2 separate regions of the Homo sapiens genome follow, and region 1 is linked to region 2. The links are contacts of gene promoters, found by promoter capture Hi-C in blood cells and fetal thymus (Javierre and others, 2016). All regions are on one chromosome and are shown on one strand. The core of a region is centred on a gene start or on the middle of the fragment in contact, and the rest is flanking DNA. Distances in the headings are between cores, read along the strand shown.

The links. The method cuts DNA at HindIII sites, captures the fragments that hold promoters and counts their contacts. A CHiCAGO score of 5 or more calls a contact.
Region 1: a fragment that was not itself captured here is called in contact with the fragment with the promoter of CHIC2 in region 2 in 1 of 17 cell types (total CD4 T cells); the score reaches 9.2 in total CD4 T cells.

The regions. Positions count from the first base shown.
Region 1 is chr4:14,991,561-14,998,092 of GRCh38, forward strand. CPEB2-DT (CPEB2 divergent transcript) reads right to left here. Exons shown (of 8, transcript NR_038857.1): 4 at 3,694-3,790; 5 at 1,152-1,342. Among named protein-coding and RNA genes, the nearest start is that of CPEB2-DT, 7.2 kb to the right of the region's middle. The HindIII fragment of the contact is 815 bases long and covers 4,794-5,608 here.
Region 2 is chr4:54,061,669-54,068,130 of GRCh38, forward strand. It overlaps CHIC2 (cysteine rich hydrophobic domain 2), which reads right to left and starts at 2,937. Exons shown (of 6, transcript NM_012110.4): 1 at 2,514-2,937. The coding sequence starts at 2,632. RefSeq lists enhancers at 2,345-2,845, 4,842-6,041 and silencers at 2,645-2,774, 3,005-3,244. The HindIII fragment of the contact is 3,181 bases long and covers 1,761-4,941 here.

The DNA.
Region 1 (6,532 bases), core at 3,951-6,450, about 39 Mb before region 2:
GGATGAATATGCATCAACTGTGGGCCTACAAACAATGGTATTTTCATATACACGATTCATGTCCTTATGAAAATCTTAGAGTTTCTTATTCTCTGTACCAGTTTGTCTATTTTTTTCTATTGAAAATTGAGGTCTATGTTTTTTCTTATTGTTATGAATTACGTACTCCAATGTTAGTACAATGGCTTACACTATAAATGAATTTTGGATGTGAGATGACATAAAGTCCTATAGTCCTTTCTCAAGTCCCACAAAAAAAAGGAGACAGCAAAAGTGAATTGCTAGCACTGACAATGAAGCACTAAGACTAAAATCAAATATCCCTCTTCCCTCTGAATGTTTTTCCTCTCTTGTCTTTACATTTAATCAATCCTTGTACAAAGGCTGGTGATAATGCCTGCTACCATATAAGCTTCATGATATTTCTTTTTAACTGCACGTTTAGAGTTTTGAAAACAAACATTTAAAATGTTGAATCTTCTAAGATTCTAAACATATTAAGGTCAAATTTGATAGATGCAATGCTCTTCATCTACTTAAAGTCTACATATTTAATATTTAGTCAAGATGCATCACTTTTCTCTGCCTAGAATAATTTATCAATTGAAGTGGTTAGCTTACCACAATGTGGAAAAATACAATATATCCAATATATACTGCCAGACCTCATTCTTACTACAGGAGAAAAATGAGTAAGCATATGTGAGGAATATCTCTGATTTTCTGTGGGATATGTTATTTTGAAAATAAGATGCTTTTTCTCTGAGGTCTCTACTACCAATTTTCATTCATGTAGCTAGGTGTCACTGTGAAGACTTGAAGGATTATCCCTTCCACTCCTTAACTTTTAGTAGAAGCAGGGACTGTTGCTTTAAAAAAAAAAAAGTTTTATTTTTTGACATTATAATTGTATATTATTATTGCATACAGTGATGTTATATGTATACAGAGTTGAATGATTGAATCAAGCTAGTTAACATATCAATCAGCTTAAATACTTATCATTTTAAATCTAACTGCAACTTTCTACCCTTTGACCAACATTCCCTGTTCTCCCAGCCCCTGGCCTCGATAACCACCATTCTATTCCCAGCTTCCATGAATTTGATTGTGTTAGATTCCACATATAAGTGAGAACATTCAGTTTTTACCTTTCCATGCCTGGCTTATTTCACTTATATAATATCCTCCAGGTTCATCCATGTTGTTGCAGTTAGCCAGATTTCCTTCTTTTTAAAGGCTGAATAGTATTCCACTGTGTATATATGCTACATTTGCTTCATCCATTCATCTGTTGGTGAACACTTAGGTTGTTTCCGTGTCTTCGCTACTGCGACTAATGCTACAGTGAACACAAGAGTGCAGACGTCGCTTCGACATACTGGTTTCAAGTCCTCAGGATATATATACCCAAGCACCGTTTTTAAGCGTGTGTCCCTGTGACCCTGTTTTACTCAGGTACTTGCTGAGCAGTGGCCCACTCTTTGTCTTTGCTTCTAGCACTAGCCTGAGGGCCAACTAATGAAGCAAGAGACTGAGAAATGAGGAGATGGGGGCATTAATCTCAGTCTATGCAAACCATCTCAAGCAAACGACTTTACCTCTGGGCTTTGGTTTTCCAACAACAAAACAAAAATATTATTCGCTTTATCTACTCACAAAGTATATTGTGACAAGAAAAGGAAATAATAGAAGTCCCATTTCAAGCCAGGATTGAGATGAGCTTCAGTGTGTAATTTTTTCTGCCTTCTTGCTAGATTTGCCTTACCTCAATATTCTGTATAGATCACAAGGCTCCACCGATGACCAGCCCGGCAAGGTCATATTGCAGCAAGTAGGATTCCAATTTAGTAGGTCAGTTTCAGCCTACAGTCTCACTGTTTATGACTCTGCCCAGATAATTAGGGTTGGGAATTATCATAACTAATGTCAACAGTATTTATTTACAGCCTCTGTGAGGATGTACAGAATAATGGATATATTTTCTGTTCTTTTCACAGTTATACCCATAGTGCCTTGCACAGTGTCTGGTACAGAGCAGGCACTCAACAGAGAGTTTCTGAATACATAAATCAATCAATAAGAACTAGGAAAATTAAAGAACATATAAGGCATAGCAACTGCCTACAAAGACTTGTAATTCAATCGAGTTCACATGGCCTTAAAGATACAAGATAAGTAGCAATAGAGAAGTCAGTCAGTCTACGTAAGGGCCCAGTGAGCATCGTGGCAGAAATTACTGGAGAGGCTGACAGGTTCTCTCCTAGGTGGGGGTATTGGAGTGGGATGATAAATCCCCTGGATGCCACAAAGGGTAACACAGACCTTCTATTATGTTTCGGGGCTACACTTTGTCATCAGGGGAAGATTCTTGATATTTTTCTTTGTCAATGAGTTCATCTTTGTATGGCATAATAACCAGAATAGAGATCGTAATAACCAGAGTGAAACTTTTAGTTTGGTATTGTCAAGGAAAAAATATTGGGAAGGAAAATAACTTTTTTGTCATTGTTATTATGATTATTCATTTTATTTTTTCTCCAGTAAACATAAGGTAACAATGCTACAGTTATCCACAAAATGGCTCATGTCTTTGTAAAGCATGCTTTGGAAACATCTACCTCTTTCCTTCCTTCCATCTCCCTCCTTCCTTTCCTTACCTTGTTTTCTCCTTTTCTTCATCTTTTCTTCTTACAGCATTCATTGGGCAATTACTAATCAACAAATACTTATTGGGCACTTGTGTTCCAGGAATGTGAAAGGCAAGGGAATGCGGAGATACATGAAGGAATTACATTTGAGTAACGTTTCTGCAGTATAATTGACAGAGCATGGTTGACAATTGTTTTTGGAGGGTGAGAGAGATGAAGGAAGAGGATGACTCATGTTTCAGCTTGAGAAACTGGTTGTGTGATGATGACGTCAGCCAAGACAAGAAGCAAAATAGGAGAAGCAGATTTTGGGGAAGATGTTGAATGCAGGTATAGACACATTGAATTGATGTGGCTGAAGGACACCCAGGTCAAACTGTTAAACAGGCAGTTGGAAATATGATTTTGACCATGAGGCTAAAGAGATGGATTTGGAAGACATTAGCATTTAGATGATGTTTGAAAACATGATAATAAATTCATCTAGAAAAAGTAGGTAGAAATATAGAAAAGGACCAGAAACATAAGCCTAAGGAACTCTCACACGTAAAGAATATGTAAGGAGAAAGTGAAGGAGGAAATTATGAAGGAAGGTTTAGAAAAGTAGGAGAACTAGAAGTAATTGAGGATGGTACTACTCTTGAGTGCCACATCAATAAAGCACCTTGAAGTTGGTCAAGGTCAGAATGAATCTTAATTTCTACTTTCTCCTTTTCCAACTCCAAACCAGAGCTAATTAGCTCCCATCTAAAGACTCAAAGCTTTCCCATTCTGTGGGGTTAATTACATTTATGGGCATGGGCTCTGCCACAGAAAGAAACCAGCAGCATGGAAGTAAGGCATCCAGTTGACCTTAACTGCAGTGCCTCCTGAACTGGTTCCATTTCTATGAGATGGGGTCTTGACTCCTCTCTTTGTTCAAGCTCCTGTAATGAACCCCTGTGTTCCTGGAGTCCCAACTCTAGTCTCCTGAGACAGAAGTTTTCCCCCTTGTACTCCAGGGTTATCTATTCCCCAGCGTTATAGTCTTGGGATGACTTACCTGTCTTCATGTACTTATCCTATATCTGACAATGCCTGGAATTATTTTTGGCTAGTTTAAGAATCCTAGGAGCATCTGCATGGTGTTTGGACAGCTCCTGAAAACAAATTAACCATTTATAAACAGACCCTTGTATTACTATTGTATTCTTTTAGCTATCATTTCCTAAAATTGCTATTTATTAATTCAACAACCCCTTTAATAAGTGCATGCAATTCCCAACTCTTGAAAGCCTACTATGTGCAAGGCATCGTTGTAAGTGCTGAGGATACAACAGTGAGCAAAACAGGCATGGACCTTTCCTCATGGGCTTGTGATCTCAGAGAGAGGACAGATAAACAGTTCAAGTACATAGTGGGTCAGATGGAAACACAAACACCTTATGAGGAATAAGAAGGCTGGGAAAGAGTGGCGGCGGGGGGTTGTCATTTTATTACAATGGTGGTCAGGGAAGACATCACTGAAAAATGACTTTTAGCAGAGACGTGAGAGAGACATGAAAAAAAATGATAAAAACATGATTAAGTGAGCCCTGTTGCTACTTAGGAGACAAGTATTCCAGGTGTGGGAATTGCGAGGGCAAAGGCCCTAAGGCTGAATTGGCCTGGGCTGTTACAGAAATAAGCATTCCACTGTAGGGAAGCTTTCAGAGGGGTTAGTGGTGGCAGGAGCGATTCTGAAGAACCTTTTGGTTATTAAAATGTTTTGACTTCTATTCTGAGAAAATGTAAGTATTTAGTCAGAGGAGTTGACATGACCTGTCTTCCACTTCAGAAGTATCATCCTGGCTGCTATGTTGGGAACAGACTGGAGAGGGGCAAGATCAGAAGCTGGAATACGAGTTAGTAGGTGAGAGCAACGATGTAGCCTGGTCCAGGCTGCTTGTGGTGAGAATGGGGTGAAGTGCTTGGATTCTGGATATATAGGCACTCCTCGCTTTATTGTGCTCTGCTATATTGTGCTTCTCAGATAATGGGTTTTTCACAAATTGAAGGTTGGTGGCAACCCTGCATCAAGCAAGTCTATCAGCACAATTTTCCCAACAGCATGGCTCAATTTGTATCTCTGTGTTACATTTTGGTAATTCTTGCGTTACTTAAAGCTTTGTCATTATTATTATATCTATTTTGGGGATCTGTGATCATAATATTTAATGTTACTAGTGTAACTGTTTTGGGACATCACAAACCACAACCATATAAGACAATAATTTAATCAATAAAGGCTTTGGGCTTCCCTATTCCCTGAGACAAAACAATATTGAAATTAGGCCAATTAATAACACTCTAACGACCTCTAAGTATTCAAGTGAAAGGAAGAGGTACATGTCTCTCACTTTAAATGAAAAGCTAGAAATAATTAGGCTTAGTGAGGAAGGTATGTGGAAAGCTGAAATAGGTTGAAAGCTAGGCCTCTTGCACCAAGTAGTTAGTCAAGTTCTGAATGCAAAGGAAAAGTTCTTGAAGGAAATTAAAAGTACTATTCCAGTGAACACGAGTGATAAGAAAGTGAAACAGCTTTATTGCTGATATAGAAAAAGTGTGAATGGTCTGGATAGAGAAAATTAAACCAGCCACAACATTCCCTTAAGCTGAAGCCTACTCCAGAGCAAGGCCCTAACTCTCTTCAATTCTGTGAAGGCTGAGAGAGGTGAGGAAGCTGCAGAAGAAAAAAGTTCAAAGCTCGCAGAGGTCGGTTCGTGTTTAAGGAAAGAAGCTGTCTTCGTAACATAAAAGTGCAAGGTAAAGCAGAAAGTGCTTATGGAGAAGCTGCAGCAAGTTATCTAGAAATCTAGCTAAGATAACTGATGAAGGTGGCTACACTAAATAAGTTTTCACGTAGAAAAAACAGCCTTCTATTGGAAGAAGGTATCATCTAGGACTTTCATAGCTGGAAAAGTCAATGCCTAGCTTCAAGCTTCAAAAGACAGACTCTTTTCTTAAGGGCTAATGTAGCTGGTGACCTTAACTTGAAGCCAATGCTCATTAATCATTCTGAAAATCCTAGGGCCCTTAAGAATCATGCTAAGTCTACTCTGCCTGTGCTTGGTAAATGGAACCACAAAACTTGGAAAGAGCATAGTTTACTGAACATTTTAAGTCCACTGTTGAGATCTACTGCTTAGAAAAGAAGATTGCTTTCAAAATATTACTGCTCATTGACTATATACCTGGTCACCCAAGAGTTCTGATGGAGATGTACAAGAAGATAATTGTTGTTCTCATACCTGCTAACCCAACTTCAATTCTGCAGCCCATGGATTCAGGAGTAATTATGAGTTTCAAGTATTATTATTATTATTTTTGAGACAAAATCTGGCTCTGGCTATAAGACTGGAGTTCAGTGGCACTATCTCGGCTCCCTGCAACTTCCGCCTCCCAGGTTCAAGCGATTCTCCTGCCTCAGCCTCCCAATTAGCTGAGATTACAGGCATGCGCCACCACACCCAGCTAATTTTTGTATTTTTAGAAGTGAATGGTTTTCACCATGTTGGCAAGGCTGGTCTTGAACTCCTGACCTCAAGTGACCTGCCCGCCTTGGCCTCCCAAAGTGCTGAGATTGTTTTGAAATAAAGCTGCTATTAAGCAATTCTTCTAATAATGCAACTAACTCCTCTTTATAATTCTATTTTCATTTTAAAATTTAAAATCACTAAGTTGTCACCAGGACAGCCTCAAGTATTATTTTAGAAATAAATTTCATAAGGCTATAGCTGCCATAGTGATTTCTCTGATGGATAAGGGCAAAGCAAATTGAAAACCTTCTGGAAGGGATTCACCATTCTAGCTGCCATTCAGAATATGTGTGACTCATGGGAGGTCAAAGTGTCAACATTAAC
Region 2 (6,462 bases), core at 1,687-4,186:
TAGATGTTAACTGGGCTACCCACTGGCATGGTGTGCTAGTGTGCCTGGGAATTATGCATGACAGAGCCATGTTAAAAAAAAAAGTTTTCTATTATTACCTATGTCGCCACAAAACAGGTTAAGTTTTCAATGCAGAAAGATCCTTATTGTCATCAAAATACTTCAAACACAGTAATTTAAGCACATACACATTGCTTAGAAATGGAAAAATAAGACTAAGGTGAATCATTGTTATGTTTGATAATGGCAGTTCTAATTTTTTAGTACTTTGTTTTACACCTGTTTCTCAAAGTGGAAAACTATATCTGAGGAGGAGAATAATAAAAACTAGTATCTATTGAACATAGTACCACACAGTGCAATAAATTCTTTTCATGTACTATCTCATTTAATCCTTAATAATCTTAAAAGGTATCGACTATAACTATCCCCATCTCAACTAAAGGTCATGAATAAACAATTTATCCAGGAAGTAGCTGAGATAGATTTTAACCCAGAGCCTAGAACCAAGATAAATGGGAGAAGAAGGAAGTTGCTGAGGAAAATCAGAGATTTAACTCACAATGTAGAAAGGCATACTGTTTATTGATGATAGATAGTCCCTCCCTATAACCTGGAATAGTTTTCAATCTTGGCTACACATTAGAATCACCTGTGAGATTTTATTTATTTATTTATTTATTTATTTATTATTTTAACTGTCCACTCCTAGGACCCTCACTTAGTATTTGGCCTTCAACTGGCCTGGGGTGGAGCAAAGACAATGGTCTTTTTTTAAAGACACCCAGGATTCTAATGGACAGCTAAGTTTGAAAACCACTAATAATTATTTTCTACCCTATTAACCTCTCCACGTAGCCAACTACAATCAAGTTTACTGATTACCTAGGTTCTGAGCACTTTGCCCACTATTGCATTTTCCACTTGCCCAACAAAGTGCTTAGCTTTTCTTCTCCTTAACAGAGGAAACATTACAACTACAGCGTCGCCTTTTTAAATGACAAAATTCTCTAGCTTTTCTTTGACATGAGGAATGTAGAAGGAGGGATAGATGGCATGACAAAGTTTGGAAATCACTTCTTTAAGCATCCACATACTCCTTAGGCTTAAAACAGTGCAAAAAGGTCCTAAAAGTCAAAATAAAATCAAATGGCAGGTTATGAATTCTGTGATATATGTTAAAAGTTTAATATCCATGATATTTGGTTATACTTCTTAAGCTGGTGACAACACTTAGAAAGTATTATTGTGGTGAATTAAATTCCACTGTCTTGTCATGGTGCTGTGATGGCAATTATGCAGTGTTTTTACCCTGTTAAGTCACCTGAACATAAACTAACAGGTACTAAAGAAATTAAAGCATTACATAAGCATACTCAAACAACAATATGGCTGGTCATACGAGAAATGCAATTATTTTGCTGACAAACTTATATGAGAAGTCTTACTGTTTCCCTAAGTTATTCACAGCACATCCCACTCACTCTTCACCAAAATATAATGAAGACTATTCCAGACATTCTCAGACTTGCTGGCTCTTTTGTTTCACTGAAAAGGTGAAGAAGTACAGAGATACCTGACAAGTATGGAAGTCTGATCTATTATTTGAACAAGAGATCTAAAATGAGAGAGTATCAATGTAATACATCAAGTGGTACAAAACTGTGGACTTCATAGTGAAACATTACAAAACTTCCTGCTTCCGGACAGCTCATTATTTGGTTCAAGGCTTCACATTCCTTTGTCATGGTCTTTCCGAAAGCTTTCATTCCTTATTAATATCAGACTTTTAATGTTACTAGTGGGACTTTCCAAATTAACAAGCCCCAAGTTCGTGCCCCAAGGAGGAGCTTCAGGACTACAATTTTCCCTCAGTAACCTGAGCAGAGTGTATGTCCCTCACGTAGTTGTTGTTGTTGTTGTTGTAAACATATTTCTTTCTGTATATCTTAAATTTGTGTTCAACTATATATTTTTATCACGTACAATTACAAGAACTTGCATTAGTTCTGCGGAAATTAGTGGAAAAACTGGGAGACCTGTGGGTATGTGTGAAATAGACACGAAACGGAGCTTCGCTGCCAATTGTCACTGGGGTCTCACACGGCCCAGATCTGGCCTCTGAGCCATGTCACTGGGTGCAAAGGCACAGACAACCACAGGGTAACTGGGCGAGAAAACAAGGAGGCTCCCTGTCAATACACGTACTTCCACCCTGAAGAGGAAGGGTGGCCCGCAGGGCAGACCCTAATGAAAACCCGTGCCTACTGGGATCGTCACATCGCCCGGGCCTGTAGGGCCTGCTAAAGGGGTGTGTGGAGGAGGAAGGACAGCGTCCGTCCCCACTTCGGAGACCCAAACAAATGAAAATAAGCCAAGTTCTCACTTCCTGGTTGCCTACTCTTTCGGAAGGCCCCCGACACCAGACGGACACAGGGGAAACGGGGCTCCCGTGGAGTAACGGGGCCCACCCCAGCCCGCACCTCCCGCCCTCGCCCTCCTCCGGGCCTTACACGGTGACGTGACCGGAGCCGCGGACGACCACCGGGTCCGGCGAGTACTTGAGCAGCTGCTCCTCCAGGGCCCGCTCCTCGTCCTCCTCTTCCTCATAGATTTCGTCGAAATCCGCCATCCTGAGCCTCCGAGCTCCCCTGCCCAAAGGGCCTGACTCCCGGGGTTGGCGCCGGGGTACCGGCGGGCGAGGCGGCGGAGGCTGAGGGGAGTCGCCGCTGCCGCCGGCTCCGAGGCCGCGGAGTTCGCTGTCGGCTGTCTCGGCTCCGGCTACAGAGGGGATGGGGTCTGGACCGTCGCCGCCACCGCCGCCGCCATTACCATCAGCAATAACAACAACACAATGTCAACATCCGCCCAGAGGCCGACACCTCCACAAGCACAGACGCCGCTGCCGCCGCCGCAGCAGCAGCAACTCAGGAAACCACAGCAACAGCCCGAGCCACCCGCAGCGGGAGCAGCCGGCTACGGCATCGCGAGACTTCCCGGGCCAACGGGCGGGCGGGCGCGTGCGTGGGCGCGTGGGCGAGCGGACTGGCTGGCGGGCGGGCGGGCGCGCGCACGTGCGGCCTCGCGCGCTCCCAGGCCACCGTCTTTCCTCTGCTTCTACCCGCAGACGGCGACCGGGGCGCGCGCTCCCGCCGGCGGGCCCCCCTCCGCCGACTTCTGGGTGGCGGACCCTGGGGGCGGCGGCTCCGCTGACTGGAGGCCGCGACCCGCGACTCCGACAACGCAGCTTGGAATGTCCAGTGGGACATGCAGTTCCCCAAAGTCATCTCTAACCAAAACAAACAACTGAAAAGAAAAGCCCTGGCTGGAATAGACACATTTTTGTGCGTGTCATTGCCAGTTTATCTAATAATCGCATCTCGCTTTTCCTCAGGTTTTGAGTCTATGATGAGAACCAGAGTCTCTTTTTTCCCAATTTGAGGAGTCCAGCAGAGACACTGCAAACATTTGTGCTCACCACAGGATTTTTCAAGACATCTCCAAATTCAAACATCTTATCCCTTGATCCCCTTAAGTATAATCCAATATATGAGGCCAGCGATGCTGGTATTTTTTTTTTTTTCTTACAAGAAATCTCACCGTAGTCATGCTATGAAAAAAAACTGATAAATTACCTGGATTCCATATTAGAAGATGCAGTTTCTTGCCCCAACTCTCTCACCAAACATAACCTGGTTTTTGTTGTTGTTTCCTTAAAATCTTAGGGAATTCCTTTCCTTTTCTTACCAGTTCCTACCACAAAAAAGACCTGAAAGAAAGGGCAGAGGAGAGGAAGAAAAGGAGGCAGGAAGGAAGAAAGGATAGAAGGAAGGACGAGAAGAATGAAAGAAGAATGGGAGAGAAAGAAAGAAGGGGAGGAAGGAAGGAAAAGGTTTAATGGAGTCTACTTAGCTGCCTAGTAACAGTTGAACGGTCACTTTGGGTACTTGGTTTCATTAAGCATATAAACAGCACAGGGGAAGGAGTGGGCTTCTGAGAAGAGAGTCCTGGACAGTGAGGATACACCATGGGAGAAGAAAGGATAGTTCTACTGAGCCCAGCGCTGGTCAGGCTCTTCAAGTGCAGTGTTCATGTCACAGTAGTCGGCTTTAGATGGGTCACTGTTGACGTGGAGAAAGTGCAAAGGAGGTCAATGAGGACAGTGAGAGATGCCAACCTCCTTTTGGAAACAACTGAAGGAAATGAGTGTGGTTAGCCAAGAAAAAATGAAGGAAAAATACAGTAGTTGTATCAGACTTATTGTATCCCTCCCTGGAGGGTATTTGTTCATTCAACAAATATCTACTGAACTCTAGCTATGTGGCAGGCACTGTGGACGTGTGTGAATGAGGCACAGGCCCTGACTTCTGGTAGCTTATCTATTGTTAAGGCAAGCAATTGTCATCTCTGCCAGGGGCTCATGGAGGAGGACACAGGAAGTGTCAGTGGGGCACACAGGAGGCAGCTTGGTCTGGTGTTTAACAATGTGTGTTCTGGAACCTGACTACCTGGCCTTGAATGTCAGCTCTGCCACTTACTGTGTGACCCTAGACAAGCCACTTAACTTCCCTGTTCAGTACCTGCCCCATTGGGATGCTCAGCAGATTCAAGGGCTTAAGATCGGTGAAGTGCCTAGAAGAAGGCCCAGTACACAATAAATACGGGGTAATAGGTGATGCTTAAGGCTCCCTAGCTTATCAACCCTGTGAGGGTTACCACAGCATTATGTAATATTTTACTGCTTATAAAGCACGTACATAATATATCATTTAATATTCCCCCAAGAACCTGTGAGGTAAGCAAAGAGGGTGTATTTATTTTCAGATATGCTATGTTTCAGAGATGCTATGATATGCTATATTTCAGAGATGCTATGTGGCTTTCTCAAGGCCATGTGACGATTTAAGATTTAATGGTCTAATTGAGTATACTGGTGGTCCAAGCTTTCCTGAATGTCTTTTTTTTTTTTTTTTTTAAGACAGAGTCTCACTCTCTCACCTAGGCTGGTGTGCAGTGGCACCATCATAGCTCACTGCAGCCTTGAACTCCTCAGCTCAAGCGATCCTCCCTCCTCAGCCTCTGAATTTCCTCCTTGGCAGGAACCAGGAGACTAGTGGCTGCACTCAGTTAAAGGAACAGCTGCAAATGGGAAGATAAGAAAGAGAATAAGAGGAAATAAGGTCAGTATGTCCTGGCACAGCCCACACCTGGCTGTGGCTGAGAATTCACCCTTATGTAGAAACAGTGGCCAAGATAAGGGGCTAGTGCCCCAAAGTATCTAAATCATCACATAGCTGACAACTTCCCAAAGACGGAGGAAGCCACACAGAGCTCCTTAGAACTCCAGCACCTTCCACAGTTCCTGCTTCAGAAAAGGAGCTTAATAAATGTTATCTGAATTGAGATACAGTGTTACTAGTGCTCTTTCCAGAACACTGTGACTTAATTAGGCTTCAGAGGACTGTGAGAACCTCACTCTTATCTTCACACTGGCTGGATGTGGGAGAAATGTTCTTATTCTAAGATCTATTCAACAGAGAGATCTTTGTAACTCCCACGGCCTGGGTATACGGTAGAGGCAGGGAATTGCCTTTTCTTTTTCTTTTTTCCTTTCTGTGTGTGTGTGTCTGTGTGTGTGTGTGTGTGTGTGTGTGTTTTCTTCTTTTTCCTGTTCTGAAAAACCTGTCAGAGCCAGCAAAAGGGTGTGGGACCTAGGAAGAAGGCCAAAGGGGTGAGCGAACATGAGTCAAACATTTTCCTGATGAGAGTTGACATCGTAATTCCAACCCTCCACCTCCGCCCTGCCAACCTTCCAAGATCCAGTTTCCTGTAAAACTCCTCCCCCAATTTCTTCCTGGAGATAAGCCACTTTTCCAGGATCCTCTCCCTCTGTGTCCAGGTACTCACTTGCACCCTGCTAAGTGCCCATCCCTCCATAGCCTCCTCTTCATTGGAGTTTCTCTTTATATTCTTGCCTCACATATTTTCATATTTACCTTTAGACCAAATGGCTCAAAACCAAACTGGATAATGTCAGGCCTCAGGAGTCAGCAAGACTTGTTTTTAAGGCAAATATTGCTTAGTTAATTCCTTAGACTTGAAAACTTCCCAGTTCCATTTCTACCTAGCAGAGTGGCCATTGGCAGCTTCACCTTTCTAAGCTTCCTTTTCTTCATCTTCAAATGGAAACTATGTCATGGGGTTCTGGAAGATCAAATGAGATCGTGCATGTACTATGGACTGAATTTTGTCCCCCCCCCCAAATTCATATGTTGAAGCCCTAACCCTCAATGTAATGGTATTTGGAAATGGAGCCTTTGGAGGTAATTAGGTTGAGATGAGGTCAAGAGGCTGGGGCCCTCATGATGGAATTTGTGCCCTTACAAGAAGAAATACTAGATAGTTTTCGATCTCTCTGTGCCATGGGGACACAGCAAGAAGACAGTCATCTGCAAGCCAGGA